Regions from separate parts of the Homo sapiens genome. Here region 2 is linked to region 1. The links are contacts of gene promoters, found by promoter capture Hi-C in human tissues and cell types (Jung and others, 2019). All regions are on one chromosome and are shown on one strand. The core of a region is centred on a gene start or on the middle of the fragment in contact, and the rest is flanking DNA. Distances in the headings are between cores, read along the strand shown.

Evidence for each region. Contacts are between HindIII fragments. The study calls those that stand out against the background at their distance.
Region 2: a contact is called between a fragment that was not itself captured here and the fragment with the promoter of BRINP1 in region 1, in 2 of the 25 tissues and cell types used here (H1 embryonic stem cells and stomach).

Annotation. Positions count from the first base shown.
Region 1 is chr9:119,366,777-119,371,454 of GRCh38, forward strand. It overlaps BRINP1 (BMP/retinoic acid inducible neural specific 1), which reads right to left and starts at 2,659. Exons shown (of 8, transcript NM_014618.3): 1 at 2,280-2,659. RefSeq lists enhancers at 2,058-2,579, 2,580-3,102, 3,103-3,623. The HindIII fragment of the contact is 11,628 bases long and covers 1-4,678 here.
Region 2 is chr9:119,442,855-119,447,695 of GRCh38, forward strand. All of the region lies in intron 1 of LOC105376250 (a long non-coding RNA gene), which reads right to left. Among named protein-coding and RNA genes, the nearest start is that of BRINP1, 76 kb to the left of the region's middle. The HindIII fragment of the contact is 4,247 bases long and covers 1,382-4,841 here.

The DNA.
Region 1 (4,678 bases), core at 1,409-3,908:
TGATCTAGCTGATTGATAAGCCTAGATTCTAGTCCTGGGCATGCCACTAACCCACTACTGAATGTTGGGGAATTCTCATTCCCTCTTTAGGCCACAGAGTCCTGCCTTTCTGCTCTTTAATATTCCTTCCAGTTTCGATCGTCTGTGAATTAGGAAAGAGAGAAAATGAGGCAGTTCCCAAAAATGGGTCTCCTCCTTGGCCCTAGTACCCCCTACCCAAGATAATCCAGGGAGCTCTGCCCTGACATGAGTTTCCTGAAGGAGATTCTCTGTGGCTATGTGAAGGCTTCAGCCTGAGGTATCAGCCTCTGGACAGAGAATGGTATGTCTGCAAGTGCCTGCAGGTAGAACCCACCCACTAGGGCAGGTTCCTACAAATACATGTTTGCTTTTATCTCTCCCCAGAATATGAACACATGTGTGTGTGTGTGTGTGTGTGTGATTGATATATATATATATATATATATCTTCCTAGAATATATGTGTACATTTTTTAGGCCAAATATATTTCTACTTTTTTCCCCTAAGAGGGCTTTTCAGCGGCCCCTCCGTGCTGAGCTAGACAAGAGGCTGTGTCCCAGCGTCACAGCCCTTGTCTTCTCCTAGCCTCCCTGCCTGAGAGCAGAACGGCTGCCGCTTACCTTGAGAAAGTAACAGCTGCCGAGTCTGGAAGCCATGCTAACAGCAGTAAAACTCAGCATTTTTGCTGAGTAGGGCAAGCCTTTAAGAGGCAGCTGGGAATCAAATCAATGGCTGGCCCCAGAGCCCAAGCCCAACAGTACCAAGCCAGGGTGGCCAAGGGACCTACCTAAAGAGCCTCCCAGGAGATGGAGGAAAGAAGAAAGAGGGCCTTGACCCAAACTACCTTCCTGGCTGAGATTCCTCCACCGCCCCCCTGCCCTTGGCAGTATTTTGGAGCCAAGTGAGAGACGCGAGGTGCAAACCGACAGCAGTTTAAGTCAATTACTGCCACATTCTGTCATGGGTTCCACACTCACAGCCCCTTTTCAAATTGTAGATCTCCCTCAGTACTGAAACACTCTCTCTCTCTGTCTCCCTCTCTCTCGCTCTTGCTCTCTCTCTCTCCCTCTCCACCTCTCTGCCTTCTCTCAATATCCCCCTAACTCCAGGGGAGCCATGGAGAGGCATATTTAGGGAGAGACTCTCTGGGGGCTTCCCCGCCTGAAATGGGGAAAGAAAGACGAATCTGTCTTAGGAAAGTGCCCCATCCATCTCCTTCCATATCATCCACAGCCGCCCCAGATGAAATTTCCTCTGAGACCCTTTGCAACTGTGATGGATGAGCAAGTCCCCGAGGACGCTTTCTCCTTTCCCCTGAGGGGGATCCATGCAAACTTGCCAGATCCTCCCCAAAACCAACAGAAGCCGGAGGGGCTCTGTTGATTGCAAACGGGGATGCAGGGTAAATCCCTATCCCAGACTTTCCAAGCCCCAGATAAGGAGCCCACCGCTGACTTCCCCCTTTCTCTGTCACCCACTATCCAGTGTCTCCAAATTCCCATCAGAATCTTGGAGTCTGCCCAGTGTAGAATTTAAAGTGACAGCGTCTCATTTGCCTCGGGGGTTGGCCATGTCTCTTTCATATTAAGCTGTGGGTCCCAGTGTAGCAGGATTCCACCGTTTGGAGGAATTTTCCTTCAAGCGTACCAACATTGGGCTAAATAAGGTGCCATCTACAGCCCCATAATCCTCCCCAAACCCCAAGCCCAGAGCCCCAAGAGGAAGTCCACAGCGGGTTTCCCGGTGACTACGTGATCCTATAGTAAGGGTCCCATTCCGTGTAAGCTGGAGAGACCTAATTAAAAAGACACACGAGGGCACACATACAAACACATACGTACAAACATGCACACACACATCGCGCCGTAAGTAGGTTATAGGACCTCTCTCTCTTCACCCCTCCCTTACACACACGGACACACACACACACCACGAACACACGCATCAAACGCAAACGACGCCGCACACGCAAACACACTAGCACCACATCAAGTTCCCACCATGGTGCACACGTCGGGAGCGCGCGGGGACACACACGCCACTCACTCAAACCCGCAATTAGCCCTTTGAGCCCCAGGCACAGGAACCCCCTCCCTAGAACTGGAGAAGACTTGGAGGCGGCGGGGCGGCCAGGTGAAGAGCGGACAAGGGTGCCGGTAGGGGGAGGGGCAGAGGAGCGCGGGGACGCCCCGAATGCGGCCCGGGGCCGGGTCCAAGGGCAGCGGGGCTGCGGGGCGCTGCACCCGGCGCCGCCTTACCTGGAGTCAATGTCCGTCTTTGGCGGAGAGCTGCGGGAGGACGCTTTTTATTCGGCTCGGTGGGAACTTGGGAGAGCCCTGCGTGCAGCTCGCATTCCGGGCACGGCGCGGGGACTGCAGGCGTGGGGGTACCTGGCTCCTAGCAGCCTGGCTCATACTCAGCCGTAAAGTCCCCTTCGCTGGTCCCGAGGACAGGCATGAATCCCGGCTCCGGAAGGCGGTCACTACTCCCTCTGCCTCCCGGCTCTCTCGCTCTCGCTCTCGCTGTTGCTCGCTCGCTCTCTCCCTCTCTCGCGGGTTCGCTCGCCTGCGCTCTCCTCCTCCCCGCGCGCCAGATCAGTTTGCAGCCGTGGGGTCCGGGAGCGAGGCGGCTGGCGAATGGAGAGGGAAGTCCAAGTGCGCCGCGGTCTCCGGGCGGGGAGCGGCGGAGGCCGGGCTACGCCGGGGGAGGGACTTAGCCGGCGACGGCCGAAAATGAATGGGGGAGCGGCGGCCGGGGGGCGGGGAGGGAGGAGCTGAACGCCGGGGTTGCTTCCGAGGAGTGTTTTGTACATCTTTAGGCGGAGGAGGAGGAGAAGCGAGAGGAGGAGAGACGGGAGGCCGCCTCGAGGGAAGGGCGGCCCGGGTGGGCTGGGGCTGAGCCGTAGGGAGTTTCGTGGGTCTGGGGCGTGTAGGGTGTTGTGTCTATGCGCACGAGCATCCAAAGGGACCGCGCATACGCGCAAACCCGGAATCCTGGTGCCCTTAAGCGTGACTGTACTGTGTGTGTCGCGAGTACCTGAGTGTTTCTGGGGCGGCAGGTGTTTCCACGGCCGCGTGGATCCATCGAGTGTGGGTTTTGTCTCGGGAGTTGCCCGTGTGGGTCCGTTTGTGTCTGCGCGTCTCTCTGTGAGTGTTTGACACTGTTTGTTTCTCTCGGTGTGTAGGCGAGAGCCCACGTAACCTCCCAGAATGAAGCAAGAGCTTCTCTACGTAGGCAGGATGTAGGAGGGAGAAGCTGAGGGGACACGAAGTTCTCTGGAGACCACCAGAGGCGGGGAAGGGGCGAGGGTACAGGGACTAAGACATGAAAATAAAAAGCAAAATACTCTGCAATCAGCCTGAATGCAGGCTGGGGCTGCTAACATAGGGCCTCTTCCTGAAGCAGAAAATAAAGCCCTCGTATGATAATTCCCACACAGCGCACATTTGGTATGTTTGTTTACTTTGCTTCCCTTCTGATTTAAACCAAATCAGCAATGCAGATCCCTAGTCCCCTGAAGATTAGGCAAGAATAGAAAGCATTAAGGCTACCAGATGGAGGGGCAGGAAGTCATAGGAAAAGGTGTTGGAATATGTAAAAGAGCCAGATTCAGTAGAAGTGCAGGCTCCAGAGAGGTTGGAGTCCTGTAGCTGTCTGGTCTTGGTGAAATCACTTACCCCTTAAGCCTCAATTCCTTGTCTGTTTAATAGAATAATAATATATCTACCCATCTAATAGGGTTGATGTGGAATTGTAATGAGTTAATATATGCAAAGGCACTTAGACTGCTCATGAGTTAATGTATGCAAAGGCACTTAGACTGCTCCCTGACACCTAGTGAGTGCTCAGTGCATGTTGTCTGCTTTTATGATTGCCATTGTATGTTTTTTGTTTGTTTTTTAATTCAAAGGATGATAAGAGAGAGATGTGACCACCAGGGAGGCCTAGAACAATCTAGGAGCCAGTGAACTAATTGGAGGAAGAGGAGTCTTGAAACAAAATGGAAGAGAAATGTTTGAGTGATGAACTGGGAACTCGGGAAAAATTATTTAATCGACAAAGAGAAAGGGAGAAAGAGAGGAGAAGACATCGAGCTAGCCAGAATGATCCTGGGTCTCAGAAGGTCAGGACTGAGGGGAGAGGAAAGGGAGAGGAGGAGCAGCCAGTGCAGAGCTTCTCAGCCTTCACTGGAATCCCAATGAGGAGGAGTCAGCACCACGGACAGCTCTCCAGCCACAAACCCAGTCAGCGATTTCTATTTTCGCCTGGTGGAAATTTCTCCCTTTTTTCTTGGGCAACTTTCTCTTTCCCTTGGCTTCTGGTCCAGGTTCAGGTCTTGAACACAGGTTCCCCAGGTCAGTTCTGACTTTGATTCTGACCACGAAGAAATACGCCCACCACACACACTCCTTCTCCCACCCACCGCGGTATGAAACCCCAGGTCACTATCTCTTGCCTCTCCTCCTTTCTTTCTTTTCTCTCTCTCTCTTTCTGTCTGTGCCCCATTCCTTCCTTTATTCGTCCCTATCTTTCTCTTTGTTTCCCCATCATCCCCCAGCTGAGATCTACTTCCATGACTGTTAGTAGGCAACAGCTGCCCTGCTGATAATGCAGTTCTGAAATCAATCTGAGACAACGTAGTCAGGCAACTTCAGGT
Region 2 (4,841 bases), core at 2,255-4,754, 77 kb after region 1:
CTTATCATCTTTTCCAAAGGAGGCTGATCCTGGCTTAAACCCCTGACACAAGCAATCATCATTCTTCCTTTCTGGATAAACTGAGGTTGAATTTGCCTTTGGGTTAATTTGTCTTTGGTCACTGAACCAGCAAGTTGCAAAGCAGGACTTGAACTTGAATATCTTCTTTCCAAACCCTGCTCTTTCCACATATCTCTGAACATGCCCAACATACGAAGAGGGGTGAGATGGAAAGAACTACAGGTGGACTAAAGGGCATATCCATCCAGAACGAGCTTTAATCTGTGGATGGGATGTAATGTACCTTGGGTTTAACTAACACCTGTGAGTCCAGAGATGCCCAACTATGAAGCTGGGCCGATGGCCAGTTCTCTCTAGAGTTACAGGCTGGGACCAAAACATCCATTTCTTTTCCTCCAAAGGTGTCACCTGACGGTAACTGGGGTCATGTCAGCATTTCCAGGAGGCATATTTATGTAGTGCTTTTATCAAGCAAGGCCAGTGGCCACGATCCCACAGCAGGCCTGGGTCAGGCAATTGAAGCATTACATCATCTCAGTTGAGTTGTTTTGGAAAGTGGAGCCAGAAGAAAAAGAGAAAGGGGCCAGGATGGTGGGAAGGAAAAAGCTCACGTACTGAGCCAGCCAGTAGATGCTAGATTCTGGGCCAAGTGCCTCACAGACATTATCTGATTTAATCTTTACAAGTGTCCTAAAAAGCAGGCATTGAGCTCTAATTGTACAGATGAGGAAACTAGTCAGAAGGGTTAAAGAGCTTTGTCTGAGGCCTATGGTTTTGCATATGTATGATACAGACCCAGATCTCTCTGACTTTGGAATCTGACCTTATTGCCCTATTTCTCTCTGCCTCTGTGTTTTCAGAGTCTAGTCTTGATCTCCCCATTTAACTTATATAGGCAAGCTTCTCTTCTCTGAGCCTCTTATTTGTTATCCTAGAACAACAATATTGCTTTCCTACTCTAGAGACTGGCAGGACATAAGGACAGGACATTTGAAAACATTTTCATCAATTAAACATGAGTGTATACTATTTTTATAAGTATAAATAAGAGCACCTAAAAAGGGGAAAACATATACACACAAATACACATATATATGCACATATGCAAACATATATACACACACACATAAATATACAAATAAAATTATTGCAGCAAATTCTTTCCTGAAGTTATTTATAAACCCCCACATCATTGTATGCTTTTTTTTTTTTTTTTTTGCCATGTTGGTGCTCCCTGTGTTTGCCTTTTTGGGAAAAATAATATAACTTTAATCATGTAACACTTTACCTTGAAAGGATCTATTTAACATCTCTTTCGGCATCCTAGTCTCTAATTGCATAATTGAAAGATTTATCTTCATGGTTTTGTGCAAACTGTAGAGTATTTCACGTGCTTTTTTAGTTTTTTTTCTTCTAAAATCAAAGCCAACGTCCTTAAGACCATAGTTCTCTACTTGCAGAGGTAGGAACATGGTCACTAGAGGTAGCCTGGGCCATTCACGGACACACTGTGTGATCATATTAGCTTTTGTATCAGACCAGTCTGGTGGCTATGTGCCAAAGGCAGATGTAGAAGCCAACTAGGAGGCTCTTGTTGTAACCAGGGCTGGAGGGATGAGGGCTTAACCTGGGTGGTGGTGATGAAAATAGAAAAGAGAGAATGGTTTCAAAACATTTTAAAGGTGGAATCAATGCAACTTGAATGGCTTGAATTTGGGGATGACTAGCGTCCTGGGGAACATGCTTTGAGATTCAATGTATTGAAAAAATTTGCATGATTACAGGCATAGAACCTAGTTATTGCATGGGATTCACTGGAAGCTTCATTTAGATTAAACATGAAAAGACTCCCAATGATTAAAGCCATCCCATAGTAAAATAACCTGTCTAGGTAGGTAATTGATTATTTGACTTTGGAAATGTTCAAAAAGGGTCTAAGTCACAATTTCTATGAAATTTTATGAAAATGGCTTGGGTATCATCTTTAAGAAAAACATGTTTCAACATTTTAGGGAAGAATATCCATAATAATTACAGCTGACTTATTTATCAACATAATAACTAACACTTACCAGGTGTCCATTGTGTGTCAGTTTCAAATGCTTAACACGGGTTAATCTTCACAACTACTCTATGCAGTGATACTAATATTATCCCCGTCTTACCAATAAGGAAGTTGAGATACAGAAACATTAAGGTACTTATCCAAGGTCATATTGCTGATAAGTGGGTAGAAACAAGATTATAACTTAGGCAGTCTGCCTCCACCAGACACAACTTAAAAGTCTCAATAGCAGAAAGAAAATAGTTCAGTATGTCATAGCACAGTCCTTCCCTTCCCCTCCCCCTTCCCCCTCCCCCTCCCCCTCTCCCCTCCCCTCCCCTCCCCTCCCCTCCCTTTCCTTTCCATTCCTTTCCTTTCCTTTCCTTTCCTTTCCTTTCCTTTCCTTTCCTTTCCTTTCCTTTTCCTTTCCTTTCCTTTCCTTTTCTTGAGACAGGGTCTTGCTCTGTCACCCAGGCTGGAGTGTGGTGGCACAATCTCAGCTCACTGCAGCCTCTGCCTTCCATCTCAGGTTCAAGGGATTCTCGTGCCTCAGCCTCCCAAGTAGCTGAGCTGCAGATGTACACCACCACACCTGGCTATTCTTTGTATTTTTAGTAGAGACAGGGTTTCGCCATGTTGGCAAGGCTGGTCTCGAACTCCTGACCTCAAGTGATTTGCTCACCTCAGCCTCCCAACATGCTGGGATTACAGGCATGAGCCACCATGCCCAGCCAGCACAGCCATTTTCTAGTATTAGGTTATTCTAGTATTATGTTATTAAACCTAGCAATCATGAAAACTATGTAGTAACAATGAAGAAGAAGGTTTAGAAATAACTTACCCATATACCACAATTATCACTATGTACAAAACCTACAGAGATATACAGAAAATGAAATGGAAGGGAATGGTATAGTGAAAGGAATACAGATGATCTGTTTTCTTTTCAACATTTTCCTCAAAATAGTAACACTACATCTATTCAGAAAATATAGTTGTAATTCAAAGCAGATAAAATGCACTTACACGGAAAAAAGCTGGAAGGAGATTGGATTTCTAAGAACTTTTCCAACAGAGAAATTCTATGATTCTGTTAGAGTGGGCTTTTTTATGGGCAAACTTGGTATCCAATATGAGTATGTGGATGAAGACAAATCTGTCATGAATGAAATGCAAAACCTCAACTGAAAACTTTTATTTTGATTTAACAGTCAATAATCCAAACTAAACACCAATCGATTAAGACAAATATGTTTCCGAGGCCTCACAATTCTGTATTATTAGTCACACATCCCCAACAAAGTTGCTAAACTTCCATAAATATGTTTTTAATGATCAGACAATATTTATCTAATGCATGCTATCTCTCACATTAAGTTGAAATTAAATGCACGATTTACTGTGTCATGTCCCTTCACGGCTTCAACAGTCCTCTCTTTTCTTCCCTTTTGAGCTCAGATAACAATTTGCAATGCAGCTGTATAACATCTGGTAGCCAAGAAATACTGCTGGAGAGGTTTTCAGTCTCAGAGTTTGATGGGTCCTGATACACAAACCATTTCTCATCAACTTTTCCTGGATGCAAAAATGCATCTCAGGAATATGTTCTTGGGAAATATCCATGTGTCTGACATTTTCCCCACATCTTAGCTGAGGAATACCCCCACAGTAAGTCAATATACTTTATTGCAGAAGAAAATAAGAGAATACATCTAGGTCTCACTGACTTTTTTCACTTACTAGCAACTACCTGACCCCAGAATAGTTGATCTAGGGGGAAGCACTGCTGTTTCTTAGGAGGGTCTATACAATTATGGTGAGATGGATAATAATATCATTCTGTCTTGATTTAAAGACATTTCCAATGATAAGACATGCTACTGATTTAATAAGAGCTCCTTGAGAAAAAGAGAGAAGCACTACATTAATGTACATGTCAATTGTAAGATATTCCAATTTCAGAAATGTTAAATAAAAAAGTATATCTCAAAATTTGGAAAATATAATAGCTAATATATCTAAATTGGCAAAATGTGTCTGTGTTTTTTTTAAGTTTCTTTTATACTCAAAATGAAGTAGTGAGTTAGATATTTTGATCTCTCTTTTACAGATGAGGAAATTGAGTCTCAGAGATTGAATCGATGGCAGAGAAGGGACTCGAACTAGCTCTTCCCAAGAATGTCTTCACATCAGAGAGAAATTCTTCCTTCCAAGCACTAGAACCTGGGGGGAGGTGGAAGGACACTAAACTTGGAGGCACAACAAGCCGAGTTTCTTCTCAAGATTTGGCCCCAATAGAGGCAGTGTCTGGGCTAGAAGCTAGTTTGCATGATTCCACAGTTATCCACAGGGACTGATATTTAAAATTACATCCCGTGTTCAAAGTTCATAAATTACTGATAAAAACAGCCTGTTGAAATTTCATTGAATAATTATAAGCTTAGTTCGCTGTCACTGCTCTAAGAGGATACTAACAGCCACCAGGTACCTACCATGTCCTGTATGCTACATTCTTAACACTTTACACACATTGTGTCAGGTTATAATCACAGTGAACCCATGAGGCAGGTGAATTGTTATAAGGACGGGGAACTTGAGGCACAAAGAAACTTGCTCAAGATTCAGAATTCAAATCCAGATTTTTCTAATTCCACGGCAGGGCTTTTAATAACTAAAATAACGAAATAAATTGTTATCAGGACACAGAAGAAAAAAACACAAAAGGCAAAAACTTCTACTCCTAGAGATTTGAGATCCATTTGGTGAGGTAAGATTA